Regions from separate parts of the Homo sapiens genome. Here region 1 is linked to region 2. Evidence: promoter capture Hi-C in 16 types of primary human blood cells and fetal thymus (Javierre and others, 2016). All regions are on one chromosome and are shown on one strand. Each heading gives the region's core, a stretch centred on a gene start or on the middle of the fragment in contact. The rest is flanking DNA. Distances are from core to core; before and after follow the strand shown.

Region 1 (3,531 bases), core at 738-3,237, 1.0 Mb before region 2:
AGCCAAACAGAAATGACATCCGCAGCCTCCACACGGAGCCTCCCCTCCAGTGGTGCAGGGGAGAGTTGGCCCTGTCTTCCTTTCCCTTCTGATTTTGCAGAGCTCTATGCTTCCAGCTGCAGCTGCCCACAGGTCCTGGCTGTTTAGAGGGCGGCTTAAGAGGCATGACGACATCACAAAGAGCAAATGGCTTCAGATCCTGGCTTCCTCCTCCACTGCCTGGTGGTGCAGAAAGAAACCTGGAGCAAGGACGTTAAGAGCTAGCATTCTGGCTTCTGCCTGGCCCCTAGCTCTGCGGGCAAGACCTGTCCCTTCTCTGGGTCTAATATCCCCACCTTGAAAATGTGAGATTAAACTGAAGGAGCACTAAGTGCCCCACCCAGCTGTGATGAGTCATAGTTCTAGATTCAGCATGTTCTTCTGAAATGGAAGCTACTGGCATTCTTTTTTTTTTTTTCTTCTTTTCTTTTTTTTTTTTCTTTTTCTTCTCTTCCTTTTTTTTTCTTTTTTTTTTTGAGATGGAGTTTCGCTCTTGTTGCCCAGGCTAGAGTGCAACAGCACGATCTCAGCTTACCACAATCTCTGCCTCCCAGGTTCAAGCGATTCTCCTGCCTCAGCCTCCTGAGTAGCTGGGATTATGGGCATGCGCCACCATGCCCGGCTAATTTTTGTATTTTTAGTAGAGATGGGGTTTCTCCATGTTGGTCAGGCTGGTCTCGAACTCCTGATCTCAGGTGATCCGCCTGCCTCGGCCTCCCAAAGAGTTAGAGCTGGGATTACAGGCGTGAGCCACAGTGCACGGCCAGTTTTTTTTTTGTTTTTTGGTTTTTTTTTTGAGACAGAATCTTGCTCAGTTGCCCAGGCTGGAGTGCAGTGGCGCGATCTCAGCTCACTACAACCTCCGCCTCCCAAGTTCAAGTGATCTCCTGCCTCAGCCTCCTGAGTAGCTGGGATTACAGACATGTGCCACCACGCCCGGCTAATTTTTGTATTTTTAGTAGAGACAGGGTTTCACCATGTTGGCCGGGCTGATCTCGAACTCCTGACCTCAGGTGATCCACCTGCCTCGGCCTCCCAAAGTGCTGGGATTACAGGTGTGATCCACCGCGCCCAGCTTCACCCCTGTTTTTTAAGACAAGGAAGCAGAGACACAGAGAGGCTGTGTGATCAGCCAAAAATCACACAGCCTCTCCGTGTCTCAGCTAACAGAGCCTGGATTCAAACCCGGGCAGACCTCCTAGACTCTTAGCAGCAAAGGCATTGTTTCCTGTCCAGGATCTACCCTCCTTGGCATCTGCTCAGGAAAGGAGTGACCAACCTGACCGAAGGGCACCCTCCAGCCCCTTCTCCAGCACTGGAGGACATGACCTTTTAAATGCATGCTGTCCGGCTCGGTTGGCAGACATGCAGGACAGCCAGGGACATGATTGTCCTGCTGTTTCTGTGCAGTCATAAATCACCGCAGCCCCATCCCCTGGCTTCTGGCTTCCTCCTGTGGCTGGAAAGCTCCCTGATTAGTGCAGAGGCAGCAGCAGCATCTTCTGAAGCCAAGCAGCAATGCTCCCCGCCCTGTCCTCTGGGAACACTTCCCTGTCACTGCCTTAGCAGGCTGTCCTGCAGCAGAGGCAAAGAATGACAGGAAATCTCTGCAACCTGCCTCTCCTTCTGAGGATCTCAGGCCAGTGGAGGAGGCATGAGCCCAGGAGGCAGGACCCACAGGTTGAAGCACTGGCTTTGCCATTAATCTTCCTGAGTGACCTTGGGCAAATCACTTTGCCTCTCTGGTTCTCAGATTGTGCATCTATAAAATAGAGGAACCAGGTGGATGCGTCTTAAGATCTTCCAGTTTATAGCAACAGCTTTTCAGCTAATGGCCCTGTCTCAGTGTCTTTCCATTCTCCCCAGTGAAAAATCCAAAATATCTTTTTTTTTTCTTCTGAGACAGGGTCATGCTCTATCGCCCAGGCTGGACTAGCAGCCTCGACCTCCTAGGTTCAGATGATCCTCCCGCCTTAGCCTTCAGAGCAGCTGGGAATACAGGCTCACACCACCACGCCCAGTAGAAAAAAATTTTCTATTTTTTTTTTTTTTTTTTGTGGAGATAGGGTCTATGTTTAGTTGTCCAAGCTGGTCCCAAATTCCTGGGCTCAAGCAATCCTCCTGCCTCTACCTCCCAAAGTGCTGGGATTATACATATGAGTCACCACACCTGGGCAGTCTGGGCTTTTTCTTTTCTTTTTTTTTTTTCTTTTCTTTCTTTTTTTTTGAGACAGAGTTTTGCTCTTGTTGCCCAGGCTGGAGTGCAATGGCACAATCTCAGCTCACCGTAACCTCCACCTCCCAGGTTCAAGCGATTCTCTTGCCTCAGTCTCCTGAGTAGAAGAGATTGCAGGCATGTGCCACCACGCCCAGGTAATTTTGTATTTTTATTAGAGATGGGGTTTCTCCATGTTGGTCAGGCTGGTCTCGAACTCCCGACCTCAGGTGATCTGCCCGCCTCGGCCTCCTAAAGTTCTGGGATTACAGGTGTGAACCACTGCGCCTGACCCAGTCTGGGCTTTTTCAAAAGCTGTTCCTTGTGCTGAAAGCTCCTTCTATGCCCACCCCCATTAGACCCAGACCTCCTCATCCTTCAGACTCAGACACTGAGTTGAACTAACCACTCTCTCCTCAGTCCCCATGGGCTCTCCTGCCATGTTCTCTAGAGAAGAGCCCAGACCACCATATAGCACTCAGATGTATATGAGTCTGTCTTCCCTGGGGTCATATTCCTGAAAGACATAGACTCAGTCTGAGCCATCTCTGATCTCCAAGCCTAGCATGGAGCAGGTGCTCAGCGAAGTTGTGTTCAATGAAGGAGACTCTCTGCTTTAAGAAGGGAATCAGGGAAGGCACTGTGGCTCACACCTGCAACCCCATAACCCCAGCACTTTGGGAGGCTGAGGTGGGAGGATCACATGACCCCAGGAGTTGGAGGCTGCAGTGAGCTATGATGGCGCCACTGCACTCCAGCCTGGGCAACACAGTGAGACGCTATCTCAAAAAATTTTTAAAAAACAAAACAAAACAAAACAAAAACAATTTTTTAAAAGGAGACCAGGTGCAGTGCCTCATGCCTATAATCCCAGCACTTTGGGAGGCCAAGGCGGGTGGATAACTTGAAGTCAGGCATTCAAGACCATTCTGGCCAACATGATGAAACCCTGTCTCTACTAAAAATACAAAAATTAGCCAGACGTGGTGGTACACGTCTGTAATCCCAGCTACTTGGGGAGGCTGAGGTTGGAGAATTGCTGGAACCTGGGAGGCAAAGGTTGCAGTGAGCTGAAATCACGCCACTGTACTCCAGCCTGGGTGACAGAGCAAGACTCCTTTAAACAATAAAATAAAATTATCCCACCAAGGGAATGTGTGTCACCATGAAAAAAATGGGCCACTGTCTCAAAGAGACAAGTATGTTCAAGAGGGAGAAGAGCCTGGGCTGCAGTCTTCTCCCGAAACCCAGCTGTGTGAACTTAGGCCAAGTACTTT
Region 2 (3,123 bases), core at 450-2,949:
TCAAGCACGACACACATTACGGAAACATAAGACTGTGGCATTTCACACTCATCTAACTTCTCATTTGCAGACACCTGCCATTTAGCAAAATAAAGTGGGAGTCCAGAAAAAGGAGTACTTGGTAGTAGAAGACAGAGCTGCCTGTTGTATTTCAAAAAGTTAAGCCTTCAAAAACTTTTCAGACATGTGGGCGACTTTTTTTTTTTTTTTTTTTTTTTTTTTTTTTGAGACGGAGACTTACTCTGTTGCCCAGGCTGGAGTGCAGTGGCGAGATCTCGGCTCACTGCAACCTCTGCCTCCCAGGTTCAAGCGATTCTCCTGCCTCAGCCTCCCGAGTAGCTGGGATTACAGGAGCGTGTCACCACGCCCAGCTAATTTTTGTATAAAATTCTTCCTTGACCACCCTCTCCACCTCGAAAAAAAGTAAAGCCTTACTAAGCATGACACTAATGCAAACTCAATGCATACGCTACACAAACATATAACTCCTTATTTGGAGCTAATAATATTCCAAGCCAAGGAAACCTACAAATAATTTCGCTATAGTCATAGGAGAGTGTGAAGATACAAGATAGCAACTTGATATATAACTCACATCAAGAAAACTTTCACCAGCGTTTAAGGGAAAGGAGTTGTAGATGTGGGTCATTTAATACCCACTTCCAAATTCACTGAAGTGGACAGCGCCCTACACACAAGGTGAGACCTACAGGCATCATTGCTTTGAAGCTGCATTTAAGCTCTGAAGCTCCAATATTTATAGAAGACTTTTAAAACTTTGTAAGAAATCACAAAGTTCCCCTTCTTTAAAACAGATCAGTGCTGGGAAGGCTCAAAAGTCACTTTCACTCCCTTACCAAATCATCAAAAAGCCCGGAGTGGCAGGGCCGGGAGCCGAGCATCTCGCGCGCAGCCCCAGCCTGCACAGGTGCGGAGCTCGGGGGCGGCTGGGGGCTCTCGCCCCGCCGCGCGCAGCCTGGAGGCGGCCCCTGCCCTCTTGCGCCTCACCGCCGAGGCCCATGTCCCCTGAGCCACGGACACGGTTCAACAGACACATAAACACGTCTCGCAAATGTGGGGACAAACTGTTCCACCGTTAGGTATAGGGTGGTTTGCTTGGTGGTCACGGATTCTTTCTCAAAACGTGAAGCTTCCAGGAGCACTCCTGTCTTGGCAAAGCCCCTGCGCTGCCGATGAACCCCCCGGGAGGTGGGATGCGGCCGCTGAGCTGAGCACGACCCTCTGCCCTCGCCGTGAGGTGATGCTGAGGGAACCGCCAGCGGCCCGGCCCCTCTGCCAAGGGCGAATTTCCGCGGGCCGGCAGCGAGCCAGGCGCCTCAGGCCCCACGGCGACCTGGCCCGGGCTCTGCCCCCAGACCTTCCGCCGTGGCTGGGTGTGGGTGGCAAAGCCAAAACAGCCCTCTGAGGAGGGGAGCGACGCCCTCGCACCAGCCTTCTCAGGGCGGCGACGCCCCGGGTTGCTCCCCACCGGGTCGGAGTCCGGGGGGTATGAGGGACTCCCACTCCCCGCCCCCACCCCTCTCCGCAGCGCGCCTCCCGCACCTGCGCCGCCGCTTCCGGCCCCGCTGGCCTCCGACACTGCCCGCTGCGCCCGCAACCACGGGAGCACGTCCTTCCCGAGGTCGAAGTCGGCGACCAGGCGAAGAGCCATCGCCCGGACACGACCACCGGGCGGCTCTGGGGCCCCGCACCGCGGGCATTCCCGGCCCCGCGTGGCCGCCTCGCCCTCGCGTCCCCGCTCCCGCCCCCTCTTTCCTCTCCCCCGCCCCCTGCTGCTTTCGGTTCTGCAGCGCCCTGGCCTGAGAAGCTCCGGCACCAGCTCCTCCCGGCCGGCGGCCCGCACCTGAGCCGGAGCCGGAGCCGGGCACGGCGGGTAGCGGTGGGGCGGGGTGGACCAGGCGCCAGGACCAGGCCCGCCGGGGCGGGAGGCCTCCGCGCGCACCTTCGGGGCTGAGGATAGAGGGCGCAAAGACGTGGGCGCTTCAGGGCCTTGGCGAGGCCGCTAGCCCAGTGGCTTCCAAACCTGGAGGGTCGGCCTATTTTCTTTATTCTACAAGTGCCTCCACTGTGCAGCAAAGTGTGGAAACCACTTGGCTTGAGAGAGCTGGGTCCTCTGGAGCAGTTCAGGGTCACCACAGAAGTAGGCCGTCTCTTGGGCCTATTCGCCCCAGCTTCGAGGTGGTGGTGCTTTATTAGTGTTATTAAGGTAATGAGTAGCAACTGGGAGCGTATGACGAAGGTGATCCCATTGTAAGAGAAACGCTAAAAGGGGTTAATGCGCTTGATACAAACAGCGTCCTTTTTGCCTTTTAACTCTAGTACATCTCATTTGATGCCTTGAGACATGAAAACTGAATCTTAAGTCTCCACGCAAACCCTCTGCCTCCCACCAGGGTCTAACAGAGCACTCTGGAAGGTGCTCGACAATTACTGAAGAATGAGTGAATACAGTAATAAAGAATGCTTTTTCACATGCTTCCGAAATTAAGGTCTGAAAACTACTTGTATTGACGTCATCTGGGGCACTATTTTACAATGCAGACTCCTGATCTCTACACCTGGACAAGACCAGAAACGTGCATTTTACCCAGAGCCTCGGGTGATTCTTAGGCTTACTAAGTTTGAAAACTACTCCAACCAAATGTAAAAGAAAGTCTTGAATTTTTTTCCCTCCTAGAGACATGTTTCTCCAACTGAGGTAATGGATGATTTCAGGTAGAACTCCATTACTCACCACCATATACAGAGGAAAGTCCTCCCACCCGGGAAGTGCATGCAAATTTAAGATAAATGCCTAATGAAGCTGCTAATATTATCAGTGAATAAAAGGAAGGCCACTGGAGCCCCCAAGGAGCTAATGCAACTATTTCATATCAAATAAGCTTGTTGCCTTTGTCATACAGAAACACTGTTGGCCAATTTTTTAAAGTCAGTACATTTCCATTGTTTTTATTTTTGCAGTTAACTTCTATTTTTGCCAGGCAGGACTGATTTTATAGTCAAGCAGTGATGATATAAAAAATTCTCTTCAAATTAAGTGAAAAAGCCAATGTAAAGAAGGTGAGAAACAATAAGATAATGATAGAAAGATGTGGCCAAAAT

Evidence for each region. The method cuts DNA at HindIII sites, captures the fragments that hold promoters and counts their contacts. A CHiCAGO score of 5 or more calls a contact.
Region 1: a fragment that was not itself captured here is called in contact with the fragment with the promoter of GSAP in region 2 in 1 of 17 cell types (M0 macrophages); the score reaches 6.0 in M0 macrophages.

Annotation. Positions count from the first base shown.
Region 1 is chr7:76,364,597-76,368,127 of GRCh38, forward strand. No RefSeq gene overlaps it. Among named protein-coding and RNA genes, the nearest start is that of YWHAG, 7.4 kb to the left of the region's middle. RefSeq lists enhancers at 1-573, 99-348. The HindIII fragment of the contact is 7,431 bases long and covers 1-3,531 here.
Region 2 is chr7:77,414,650-77,417,772 of GRCh38, forward strand. GSAP (gamma-secretase activating protein) reads right to left here and starts at 1,700. Exons shown (of 31, transcript NM_017439.4): 1 at 1,564-1,700. The coding sequence starts at 1,672. LOC101927243 (a long non-coding RNA gene) reads left to right here and starts at 549. Exons shown (of 5, transcript NR_110073.1): 1 at 549-699. RefSeq lists silencers at 866-1,155, 1,216-1,425, 1,646-1,995. The HindIII fragment of the contact is 1,753 bases long and covers 1,149-2,901 here.